Regions from separate parts of the Homo sapiens genome. Here regions 1 and 3 are each linked to region 2. Evidence: promoter capture Hi-C in 16 types of primary human blood cells and fetal thymus (Javierre and others, 2016). All regions are on one chromosome and are shown on one strand. Each heading gives the region's core, a stretch centred on a gene start or on the middle of the fragment in contact. The rest is flanking DNA. Distances are from core to core; before and after follow the strand shown. Region 1 holds the start of VWCE (von Willebrand factor C and EGF domains). Region 2 holds the start of TMEM132A (transmembrane protein 132A). Region 3 holds the start of TMEM216 (transmembrane protein 216).

What was found. The method cuts DNA at HindIII sites, captures the fragments that hold promoters and counts their contacts. A CHiCAGO score of 5 or more calls a contact.
Region 1: the fragment with the promoter of VWCE here is called in contact with the fragment with the promoter of TMEM132A in region 2 in 1 of 17 cell types (erythroblasts); the score reaches 5.2 in erythroblasts.
Region 3: a contact is called between the fragment with the promoter of TMEM216 here and the fragment with the promoter of TMEM132A in region 2, in 7 of 17 cell types (neutrophils, non-activated CD4 T cells, activated CD4 T cells and 4 more). The highest score is 9.3, in neutrophils.

The regions. Positions count from the first base shown.
Region 1 is chr11:61,293,979-61,297,859 of GRCh38, forward strand. VWCE (von Willebrand factor C and EGF domains) reads right to left here and starts at 1,338. Exons shown (of 20, transcript NM_152718.2): 1 at 950-1,338. The coding sequence starts at 1,059. RefSeq lists silencers at 158-417, 858-1,167, 1,348-1,417 and an enhancer at 389-1,091. The HindIII fragment of the contact is 23,922 bases long and covers 1-3,881 here.
Region 2 is chr11:60,923,109-60,926,842 of GRCh38, forward strand. TMEM132A (transmembrane protein 132A) reads left to right here and starts at 1,352. Exons shown (of 11, transcript NM_178031.3): 1 at 1,352-1,625. The coding sequence starts at 1,526. TMEM109 (transmembrane protein 109) reads left to right here. Exons shown (of 4, transcript NM_024092.3): 4 at 1-335. LOC124902676 (a long non-coding RNA gene) reads right to left here and starts at 2,289. Exons shown (of 2, transcript XR_007062688.1): 1 at 2,111-2,289. RefSeq lists silencers at 1,248-1,607, 1,668-1,887, 1,928-1,997. The HindIII fragment of the contact is 2,439 bases long and covers 1,155-3,593 here.
Region 3 is chr11:61,389,821-61,393,836 of GRCh38, forward strand. TMEM216 (transmembrane protein 216) reads left to right here and starts at 2,767. Exons shown (of 5, transcript NM_001173990.3): 1 at 2,767-2,845; 2 at 3,411-3,512. The coding sequence starts at 2,812. RefSeq lists an enhancer at 2,532-3,493. The HindIII fragment of the contact is 9,831 bases long and covers 1,720-4,016 here.

The DNA of each region.
Region 1 (3,881 bases), core at 88-2,587, 370 kb after region 2:
CCGGGCGAATGAGCGGAGCCTTGGGACTCTCAGAAACGGACAGGCAGTGCCACCAAGGCGGCAGATAAAAGGGTGCCCAGGGAGGCTGATGGAGTCGAACTCTCAGGTGGGCAGGGACCGAGCACCCGCCAGAGCGCCCTAAGGAGCCTCCTAGGGCTGGTGACAGAGGGACAGGTGGTGGGAGCCTGTGGAACGCCGGGGAGTCGGGGCAGGTTCTGAGCAGGAACTGGCGGTGGCTGTGGAACACACGTGTGAGCTACAAGCCTGGCCGGGCCGCCCCCGCTGCGCGCCCCCCGGAGGACGTGGCCGCGGGCCAGGCCGCCTGCTGACACAGTGTTCCCTAGCTCCGAGCATCACGCACACACGCGCACGGCCCCACCGCGGCCCGGGGGAAAGCACGTGCGGAGGGCGGCATCCATCGCGAAAGACAGCGGAGGGGCATGCACCCCACCCCCACGCGCGCACACGCACGGACAGAAAACGAAAAGTGACCCAGAGACCCCGGCTGTTCCAAGGTCCATGAAGTTCGTAGGGCCAAGACCCAGGGAAAGCCCCGCGCGGCAGGGGAGGCCAGGCGCTGCCCGGGCAGAGCCACGGGCACGCTGGGGGGTGAGCCAGCCAGTCCGGAGACCAGATGGCACGTCCTGGGCTCCCCTCTCCAGAGGTCCGCGCTCCAGGGCACATTAGGAGTCACCCAACGCCTGGACCTCCGATCTCCCAGGTCCCAGTCTGGACAGCCCCAGCCAGGGGGGCACGATGAGCACCCGCCTAGAGGCACAAGTTGCTGACTCTTTGTGCCGTCCCCGAGCTGTGCCCGCGCTGATAGCACCCCAGAGGAAGCCCCGACACGCGGCTGCCTGCGGCTCCTGAGCGCCCCTCCGCGCCTCTCGACTGCACGCCGGTAGCGCTCTCCCGGGCGGGGGAGCGGGGAGGAGCTCCGGGCGCTTACCTCTCGGCCGCGAAGTGCCCGGGCGGCTTCCTCCCGGTGTAGCCTCGGGCTGGTGCCCCCGGCAGCAGGAGCGCGACACAGGCGGCCCGAAGGAGCAGTCCGGCCCACATGACCGGCGGCGGCGGGTCCCCCGGGCTGGGCTCGGCTCCTGCGCCGCGCGCGGGAGAGGGGGCTGCCGGCCCTCGCCCCTCCTCCTGGCGCCGTGGGGAGCGAACCAGCGATCCCCGAAATGGCACGCAGAGCTGAGCAGGGGGGCTTGGGACGCCGAGAGGAGGGGCCGAGGGCCGCGAGGGGACGCGGCGGACGATTGTGGGGAGGGTCTCTGGCACCTCGAAGCGAAACACACAAAGGCAACGCCGCCCGCCTGCTGATGCCTCTCCGAGAGGCGCGGAGCCCGGGGCGGGGGCAAAGATCAGGGACCCCTGGGGGCGGGGTTTCGCCCTCGGCCCACACCCCCTGCCCCGGTTTGGGAGTCGGCTTCCTGCGAAGCGCTGACTGAAGGCGTCAGACCGAGGCCCCGGGAGGAAACAGACTTCGGGAACAAGGCTAGCACCAGAGGCTGCGCGCCCCGGGCATGGCCCCTGTCGGTGGGACCCGAGACGCCTTGTTGTGACGAGGTGGGAACCGTGGAAATTCGAACCCACGACGCCAGGTCGCTGTGCCGCTGAGCAGTTCTAGGCCTGCCCCCAGCCTGCCAGAAGGTCTGCACCCTAACGCCGGAGTGCGTTGATCTGTGGGTCCAACCGCTCCCTGGCCTGGGGCCCTAGCCACTTTTGAAGCCCCGGGCTCCTCTGGGCACCCAGGGGGCAGATGGCCGGCCTCCCGACTGCTGGTGGCAAGACCAGGAAGCAGCTGGCGCCGTTGGCAGTGGAGAGGCAGCAGCAGATCTGGAAGGCTCCTCTTTGCCCCTTCTGCAGCTGCCCCAGGCCGTGGTCAGAGACTGGGGGGCTGCCTAGGGATTTAGGCAAAGAAGGGGTGCGGAAATCAAAATCATCCCGCTGGGAGAAAGCTGAAAGGATAACTGATTTTACCTTCTGCTCCATGCAGTAATCTTTCCCTTAGCCACCCACAATTAGTCAAGATTTTGCTTAAATACTTCCAGGGGTAAGAAACTCACTATCTGTTAAGAAGCGGCCCAATCCAGTTTTGAACCACATTTGTTTTAAAGTGTCTTCACTTCCCAGTTGAACAATCCCTGTTCCTTTGGCCTTCCTGCTACCTCTGCCTTTACTGAGGTGCTTAACATTGGTGGCCACAAATGGACATGGCGTACCAGCGGTGGCCTGGACTCGTGCCTCCTTCCTGCAGACACCATACTTTTACTAATGCACCCTAATATTACGTTTTTGGCAACCCCATGATGTTAATTATGACACATTGAGTTTGCAGTAAAGAAAAACCACAGGTGGCCGGGCGCGGTGGCTCACACCTGTAATCCCAGCACTTTGGGAGGCTGAGGTGGGCGGATCACCTGAGGTCAGGAGTTCCAGAACCAGCCTAGCCAATATGGTGACGCCCCATCTCTACTAAAAATACAAAAATTAGCTGGGCATGGTGGCGGGCGCCTGTATTCCCAGCTACTCAGGTTGAGGCAGGAGAATCACTTGAACCCAGGAGGCAGAGGTTGCAGTGAGCCAAGATTGCACCATTGCACTCCAGCCTGGGCGACAGAGCAAGGCTCCATCTCAAAAAAAAAAAAGAACGAAAAAAAGCAGGCATTTTTTGTTGTGCTTTTATGTTATTTAAACACAAGCTGCCAAGTGGTCTCCCTACCTGAAGCTGTGTGGCCCCATTTTTTTTTTTTTTTTTTTAGATGGAGTCTTTCTCTGTCGCCCAGGCTGGAATGCAGTGGCACGATTTCGGCTCACTGCAACCTCCATCTCCCGGGTTCAAGCAATTCCCCTTCCTCAGCCTCCCGAGTAGCTGGGACTACAGGCGCACATCACCATGCCCAGGTAATTTTTGTATTTTTAGTAGGGACGGGGTTTCACCATGTTGACCAGGCTGGTCTTGAACTCCTGACCTCAAATGATCCACCCACGTCAGCCTCCCAAAGTGCTGGGATTACAGGCGTGAGCCACCGCACCCGGCTTGTGGCTACATTTTTGCAGACATTCACCTTGAGGCCGTATCTCACCTTGTTTGTTTTGGCCCATTTTCTTGTCAACATATTCTCAACAAGTAGGAGCCAAAATATTCTGTAACATAAGATGAATGCAATTTCCGTCATATCCATTCTGAGTCCCAAGGACCCTCGGAATCCTAAGGCATCTTTCTCTCTTGCCCCAAACATCTGAAGGTTACACTTTCCCCCTCCACTGCCCCTAAACCACCAATGTCAAATAGGTGCTCTTTTTTCCTGGCCCTAGGGGAGCTACCCAAATTTTCAACAGGCATACACAGAACAAGTGTCCACATGGCTTCCATATTTCATGCCATCTTCTCACACTCCAGCACACCTCAGCTACCTCTGTTCTTAGCTACATTATGGAGCCCCACCTGCTCCACCTCACCCTGTAAAACTCACTCCCTGGCAGAGTTTGCTCCATATTGGCCAATGAGCAGCTGGAATAGCTGAGATGCAACTTTGTGCTTGAAGAAAACCCACATCTACCCTAAGGAATTTAGGATACTTAGTACACAGTAAATTCCTGTTAGTGAATCTCCAAACAACGTCCAAACTGCCCCTGGCATTTCTTTCATTTCCCCATAAAGTTTCTGTGACCTTATGGCATTCACCTTGCTCCTATCAACATTTTCCCCTTTAGTTTGGTTTTTGTTTTTCTTGTCTTTTTGTTTGACCCTGAGGTTTCTCAGTTTGGACACAGAGTCTCTAACTTACTATTGTTCAAGACTAGTTCGGGCATATCCCTTGATTGCAGTTCCTGTGTTTCTTCCCACTTCTGTGGCTTGTGGTTTCTCAGTAACAAAA
Region 2 (3,734 bases), core at 102-2,601:
TGCCCACCCCGGCAGCCCGGGAGGAACACAGGCAGCTCCTTTCCCTTCACGTGGTCTGCAGAGAGCAGGGTGAGCTGCCAGCTGCCCCTCTCCACCAGGGTACCCTGTCTTGGTGGTTAGGGGCCACTTTTCCTTTGAGGCTCTAGTGGAGGTGGATGTCCTTCTCTGCCAGGCTTGGCACATGATGTGAAGAATAAATGCCCAATTCTTACTGTTCAGGTTTGATGTGGAATCACAGCTGCAGTGATATATATTTTTTATCAGTGCTTGGTTGGTTTTAAATAAAGTGCACGCTATTTTATTATCTTGTTCTGAATAAAATGTATTTACTCCAAGTCTGGATTGCTTCCATGTCTCCTCTACTGCTAAACCCATTTCTGTAGTGCAGCTCCGCCTCCCAATTTCTCCCTGTGGGGGCAGTGTGAAGCTGGCAGAGGGGAGAGCTGAAAAGGCAGGCTGGTACCAGGTACCCTTCCCTCCAGGAGCACAAGGAATTAGGAAAGCATGCCCCCATTACAAAACGTAGGAACGACTGGCACTGCTGGAAATGCGTGTGCTTGCTGGGCAGAGGGGTCACCCCTTCCCTGCAGTGTGCTGAGGTGGGTGGGCAGCCTGGAGAAGACTTGCCTGCCCTCCCCTTCACCACCCACCTGAGGACTTTCCTGTGCCAAGGTTTCCAGTCGGCCCACAGGCTGGACCAATTTTGCGGAGGGCCTCAGACATAATTTTTTCTTTGTAAGCTGCCCAGGGCATGAGAGTGTGCAGCTGGGGCCCCTGCTCTGGGCCTCTCCCCAAACTGCCTGGTAGGCAACACTGGGTCAGGACCCTTGAGGCTGGCCTTCCCTCGGGAGTGTTGGGCAACCCTCAACCCTCCTAAGCGCTGCAGGACGCTGCCCAGGTGGAGCTGGTCAAGAGACTAGAGCTGCCTGCACCTAGAGCCCTTCCTCCACGGCGGTGGCCTAGCTCTGTCAGGGCAGGCTCAGGTGGTTGGCATCTGGCCCCGTTTGACCCCCTCCCTCCTTTCCTGTCCCTGCAGCTCCCGTCCCATGTGTCCCTGAATTCTGGTTCTGACTCAGGTGTCAGATGCCTTCACAAGTGAGCTGCTTGTGGGGGTGGGTGAGGCAGAGAAAGTGGCTTTTTCTTCCCTGATCAGAAGCTTCCGTGAGGGAGCCACACAGAACTCACCGAGTCCCTCCTGGCAGAGGCGGCCGTCCTCTGTTGCTTCCAGGGACGTGGCCCTCTTCCCGACCTCGGTCGCCTGAGCGCGCAGGGATTGGGGATCCGTAGGGCACTAGGACCCGGCGGGGCGGAGGGGGCAGCCCATGTGCTGCGATTCGCTCCCTCCCACCCCACTGCTCCCGCTCCATTGTCTGGGAATTGCAGCCGCGGGGCGGGCGGCGGCGGCGGCGGCGGCGGCCGGGACCCAGCGGGCCAGGTGGGGACGGCGCGGAGCGGGTGCGGGAGATGCCGTGCGGGACTGGGGCCACCTGAGCCGCCCGCCTCGTCCCCGCCTTCTGTGGGAAGGATGTGCGCGCGGATGGCCGGTCGCACAACAGCGGCCCCTCGGGGGCCCTACGGCCCCTGGCTCTGCCTCCTGGTGGCCCTCGCCCTGGACGTCGTGAGAGGTCAGCGGGAGGGGAGGGCCGGGGCGAGGGGCGGCCGGGCCCGGCCGAGTGGGAGCGAGTGATGCCCGGGAGCCACCAACCTTTGGGTTCTCGGACTGAACCCTGAGCGGGGTCGCCCCGCAGCGCCCTGAAGGTCGGAGAGTTCTTGCCCTCGGGAACCTGCCCCCAGCCACTCGCCCCTAAGGCTTCCTTCACCTTGCACGACCCGGCAACTCCTTCCTGACCCGGGGCAGCCCGGCGCAGGGGCTTCCCCGTCCCGCACCTTCTGCGAGGGACCCCTCAGCCCGGGCATCGAACCCGGCGGCCCCGGTCCCGGGCGCACTAGCGTCATCCCCACTCCCTCACTGTGGTCTGTAGCGCTGCACCCTCCTAGCCTCCTTCCGCCGCCACCAACCCACCCCCCTCGGGAGTGGAAAGCAGCCCCTTTGCCTGGGACCTGCAACAGACGCAAGCCCTCCCTCCCCCTTCCCCCAGGGCTCCCTGACCTTGGCGTCTCCAGGGATGGCCGCATCCTTGCCTTCCAGAACCTTTGAGAGGATTCCTGTCACTGCGGGAAAGGGCAGCAACTTCCCTGTGCTTCGGGGTGGGGGTCGGACTCCCTTGGCCTGGGCTAGCTGGGCTGTGGCTGCAAGGCAAAGGATGCCACAGAAGACAGAGGGACAGTGAAACATTCTCTGCCCTCCCCACCGAGAGAGCCGAGCGCTGGGTGATGGGAGTCCGTGGGAGTCAGGCTAAGAGCATCTTGTAATTATGGAGGCAATGGAGTAGGAGGCGAACCTGAAGCCAGTGGCTGCCCCCAGAGAGCAGTGGTCACTTGTTACGCTTGGGGCAGGGGGCAGGGAGAGCCTGTCAGTCATATGCTCCTTGGTGGGGAGGGCCAGGAAGGAGGTTGAAACCAATTCCCCCACCCCCACCCACAGTCCAGCTGTGGGGCTGAGAGGGAGCTAGCTGTGGGGTTGCTTTCAGCCACCTGCTCCCCATCCCGAGGGACGCCATGGGAGTCCTAATAGAGAGAGGAGGAAAACCTTGTCAAATCCATTATGCAGCAGCAATAATGCCTGCTCCCTCCAGACAGCACTCCACAGTTTACACAGCCCTGTCCTGTCCACAGTGCCACCTAATGCTCCTGCCCCTTTTACAAGTGAGGAAACAGGCTTCAAAATGTTAATGCCTGACCCAAGTTTCATCAATTTAAATTCAGGTCTCCAGGCTCCCAGGAAATCCTCTCTAGGGAGCGCTTCCTAGTTTGGGGGAATTCCAGGATGAGCAAGACAGGGTCCCTTGTTTATAGGAAGATTACTAATTCAGAGGAGGCACCCAGGGTTGCAAAAGACAGGAGACTGGTGGGAAGGTGAGTAACCAAGGAGGGCTTCCTTCAGAAGGAGGCAGTATTCACTCATGGCCCTGAATGAGGAGGGAGGTGCCACCGGGCAGAGCAGAGGAGAGGAGGTGCGCTCCAGGGCATGAAGCCTGCAGGGTGCACCGTGGCAGTGGAGAGTGGAGAGAGAAGTGGCAGGTGGAGACGCCGGATGGTCTAGTGGCTAATACCTGGGATCAACCCCCAGCTCCTTCACTCTCCAGCTGTGGAACCACAGGCAAATACCTTAACCTCTCGGCCTCATTTTCTACATCCACAAAATGGGATTCATCATAATAGAACCTGGTTCACAGAATTATTACAAAGACTCAAAGAGTTCATATACATACAGTATTTAAATTCTCACCTGCATATAGCATTCACAAAATGCTAATTATTATTATTAGTGCTCATAGTTAGAGCAAACCAATATGGCTTAGTGCTCCTTTGTCCTTCTGATGATTGACTATTTTGACTGTCTTCCCCAGGCTCCTGGTCCCCACCCCACCCCCAGGGCAAGCAAGTGCCTTCACAGACCTCTTCAGCACCTTCCGCGCCCGCCCATCCCACACTTGCACTCGATACCAGTCGGTTCAGGGAAGAAGGGAGCAAGCTTGGAAAGATGGTGCAGGTTGCCATGGCAATGATGGGGGAGGAGGGGTGGATGCCCAGCAGAGCCTGGCCAAGGATTCAGGGCAGAGAAAGCTCACTTCATTACCATATTTTACTACACTGGCCCAGTCTGCCGACGG
Region 3 (4,016 bases), core at 1,517-4,016, 470 kb after region 2:
AAAATGTCTTTATTTACTGATGATGTGATCATGTACATAACAAGCCTCCTAGAAATAATCAATTTAGCAAGGGCACTGGCTGTTGGGACAGTCTTGCATGGGTCCTAAGCATCCCTGCATGTTCTTACTATGTCAAACCAGAAAGTCTGTCTCCTGATACTGAGCACAGAAGCAATTAAGTAGACCAAAGTGACTATAGTGTGATGATAGTATAATTTCTCCCTCCCCAGTGGAAAGGGCCTGGCTTTATTTGCTGCTTGCTAAAAAGGGTACTGAGCCTTTGGCTCTGGGCTCCACCAAGCTGTGGCATAACTCCTTGAGTGCAGCACCATCTGGGGTCATTGTGTCACTCATAGGACTTGGGAGCAGGGGGCCCCCAGGTTGCCATGCTGATGTTCCTGCTGTTTGCCATAAGTAATTTGGCCTCACTGTCAGCTTTTGGCATCTATGAAGTTGTGGCATACTCTGACATAGATTAGCCAACTTTTTCTTAAAGGGTCAGATGGTATTTAAGGCTGTGGGCCATGTGGTCTCTGTTGCAACTACTTAACATTGCCATAATAGCATGAAAGCTGCAATATATAATAACATGTAAGTAAGTGACCATGATGACGTTCTCCAAAGAACTTTTATTTACAAAAACAAGCAGCTGGCCCACTTTCTTTGTTTTTCTTTTGAGACATAGTTTCACTCTTGTTGCCCAGGCTGGAGTGCAATGGCTTGGTCTCAGCTCACTGCAACCTCCGCCTCCCAGGTTCAAGCGATTCTTATGCCTCAGCCCCCCAAGTAGCTGGGATTAGAGGCATGTGCCATCATGCCCGGCTAATTTTGTATTTTTAGTAGAGATGGGGTTTCACCATGTTGGTCAGGCTGGTCTTGAATTCCTGACCTCAAGTGATCCACCCGCCTCAGCCTCCCAAAGTGCTGGGATTACAGGTGTGAGCCACCGCGCCAGGTGCAGCTGGCCCACTTTCTTTCCATATCAGGCTCAGAGCAGGAACTTTTCTAATGTCTCTTGTCTTGCAGGCAGCGAAGATGGGGAAGCAGGATCTGGATTCCTTTCCACCTTAACCTCTGTGCTCTGCGCTTTCCTACTTACCCTAAAGGGCTTCCTTGCCCTCCAGCTTGCAGTTAAGTTGTGTCAGCGGGAGACATAAGCAGAGATCAGAGATGGGAGAAGGGAAATGGAGGTCCCTGCTATATTTATCCACTAGCCTCCTAGAGTGTGAGGGTTCCTAGTGGGAGGCCTTCTATGCACATATTACTCTCCAGCTTCAGGGAATTGTTTCAGGCCCTTCCCTTTTAAGCCTAGAAGTAACAATTACCGCCCCACCACATCCCAATTAGCCAGGGGTACAGCACTTTGCTTAAAGCTTAGTCACTCTTGGCCGGGGGCATTAATCACACCTGTAATCCCAGCACTTTGGGAGGCGGGGGGGGGGGGGGGGGGGGGGGGGGGGGGCGGGTCACCTGAGGTCAGGAGTTCCAGACCAGCCTGGCCAACATGGTGAAACCCCGTCTCTACTAAAAATGCAAAAATATTTAGCCGGGTGTGGTGGGGGGCACCTGTAATCCCCGCTACTTGGGAGGCTGAGACTGGAGAATCGCTTGAACCCAGGAGGCGGAGGTTGCAGTGACCAGAGATAGCGCCATTGCACTCCAGCCTGGGTTACAAGAGCAAAACTCCGTCTCAAAAATAAAATGAAATAAATAAAATAAAGCTTAGTCACCTTCCTCAGGCTACCTGGTTGGAGCGTGCCATCTGTTTCCTGCTTTACCCTGATTGACAACGGGCTAACAGCCAAGTCAAGTCAACCTGAGTCCTCTCAAAACCCTTCTTTTTGCACTCCCCTGCCTGCAGCAACACAGTTTTCTGTTTTTTTTTTTTTTTGAGACAGAGTCTCACTGTCGCCCAGGCTGGAGTGCGGTGGCGCGATCTCAGCTCACTGCAACCTCCGCCTCCCGGGTTCGAGCGATTCTCCTACCTCAGCCTCCCAAGTAGCTGTAACTACTGGCGCGCGCCAGTACGCCCGGCTAATTTTTGTATTTTTAGTAGAGACGGGGTTTCGCCATGTTGGCCAGGCTGATTTCGAACTCCTGACCTCAGGTGATCCATCACCTCGGCCTCCCAAAGTGCTGGGATTACAGGCGTGAGCCACTAAGCCCGGCCAGCAACACGCTTTTACCGCTGCAAATCCGGATCAGGCAGGCTTTGAAGCCCAGCTCACAGGCCGTCTCTTGGAAACTAACTTAGATTTCCACCTGGGAGCACTTTGTCCTCTCAGCTCCCACTGCACCACTTTATGGATCGCGTGGTGACTCGTTTCATTTTATTTATGTGTGTTCCTGGAAAGGACGCTCTATTTCCTTCGTGTCTCTACCTGGTAGGTAAATCGGCCGCAGAAAAGACCAATGCTAACTCCACCCTGCATTTGCAGAGATCCGTCGCTCACACCTTTTCTTGTCTTCCGTTGAAAAAAGAGAATCGTGGGAGTAGGACCTATTTGCCAATCTCCTGGTAACACTATCACAACTGGCCACTTCCGCCCAACGCCCGGTAGTCTGAGAGCCTCCAAGGTCCTCCCCCGCACCCCTGAGGTCCTGCAGACGACGGCGTCGTGGGTGGTCACCGTTATCCCTTAGGTCTGGAGAGGGGACATCCGAGCGAGGGCCACTTGCGGCCAGGCCCGAGCTCGTCCAGCTCCGGGTGACCACAGAGTGCCGCGGGCGGGCAGAGGGGCCGGAAACCCAGGCCGCTTCGTCCCTGTTTCCGGCAGCGCCGCGCTGCTCCGGGAGCCGCTGTGGCAGCGTATGCTGCCACGGGGACTGAAGATGGCGCCGCGAGGTGAGATTCCGGAGGTGTGTGAGTCGCTGGTCCCTTTCCCTTCGGTCGCTCCCTCCCACCTCTGTCCCAGAGCTTGACCTAAACCCTCCATTCTCTAGCGTTAGGGACGTCGCGCCTCCCTGGTCCAAAGCCGGCTTCCGCGGTCCCGCCCACCCTGGGTGCCTGAAGGTCTCAAGGTGCACAGCTCAAATAAACGCAGATCCTTGGCTGGGCCACTTCTAGGCTGGCTCAGGTGCGAATCTGTTGGTCTCTGCGCCCCAACTTCCCCTCCCAAATAGTGACAGAGTGAGATCTTTGAGATGTCTGTCAGCTGCGAGTTACCTCTTGACTTTTATTCCTGAAGCCGAAGAGTCGAGTTTCACGGTGATTCCTAGGAAAGGAGGGAAGCCCCCTCCACTCCCACCCCCGTACCCTCGCCCCCTCATTATCAGCAACCAGAAGTGCCCCTGAGTGGCCGGTCCCATTAGTTGCAGCGTCTAGTTTCCCCAAAGTTAGACACCAACCCATACGAGCAGAGAGGGAGCTGCCTTCCGGCCCATCCCACTTCTCTGTGCTCCTTTTTCAGGTAAACGGTTGTCCTCCACCCCGCTGGAAATCCTGTTCTTTCTGAACGGGTGGTATAATGCTACCTATTTCCTGCTGGAACTTTTCATATTTCTGTATAAAGGTAAGGAAGGCTTGGGGCTTGACGACAGCATCCCTTCCCCACTTCAGCTCAGAGCCAATTCCTACCAAGAACCTTCTTATTTTCCGTTCTTTTCTGCCCCCTGCAGTTCTTTGTCGCTGCAAGGCAGGCCTCCTCATCAGATGGCTTCTTTGAGTATGATTCCATAGGCAGCCCCTCAGCAAGAATTTCTTGAGTTTGAGAAATGTGGGCTTCTCCATTCTGACTCTGCCCACATCACTGCTCTTTGCTGAGCTCCACTGTAAGCCCACTGGTGACCCTTAGAAACTATTCAGTGGCCTGTGTACCCATGTACATCCAATCATTTTGGAGAGTGGAGTCCCCAGAGACTTTTGGAGTTAGGAGTAAAACACCATAATAATGAGCCTGAGTCGCATTGTGAGTTTATGTATCCTGCTGCTGTAATAATGCCCACATCTCACTAACTAGTTCATGGAAAGCTGAGACTGATGTCCTCTTTTTTCCCAAGTGTGTGGCAGTTCTTGT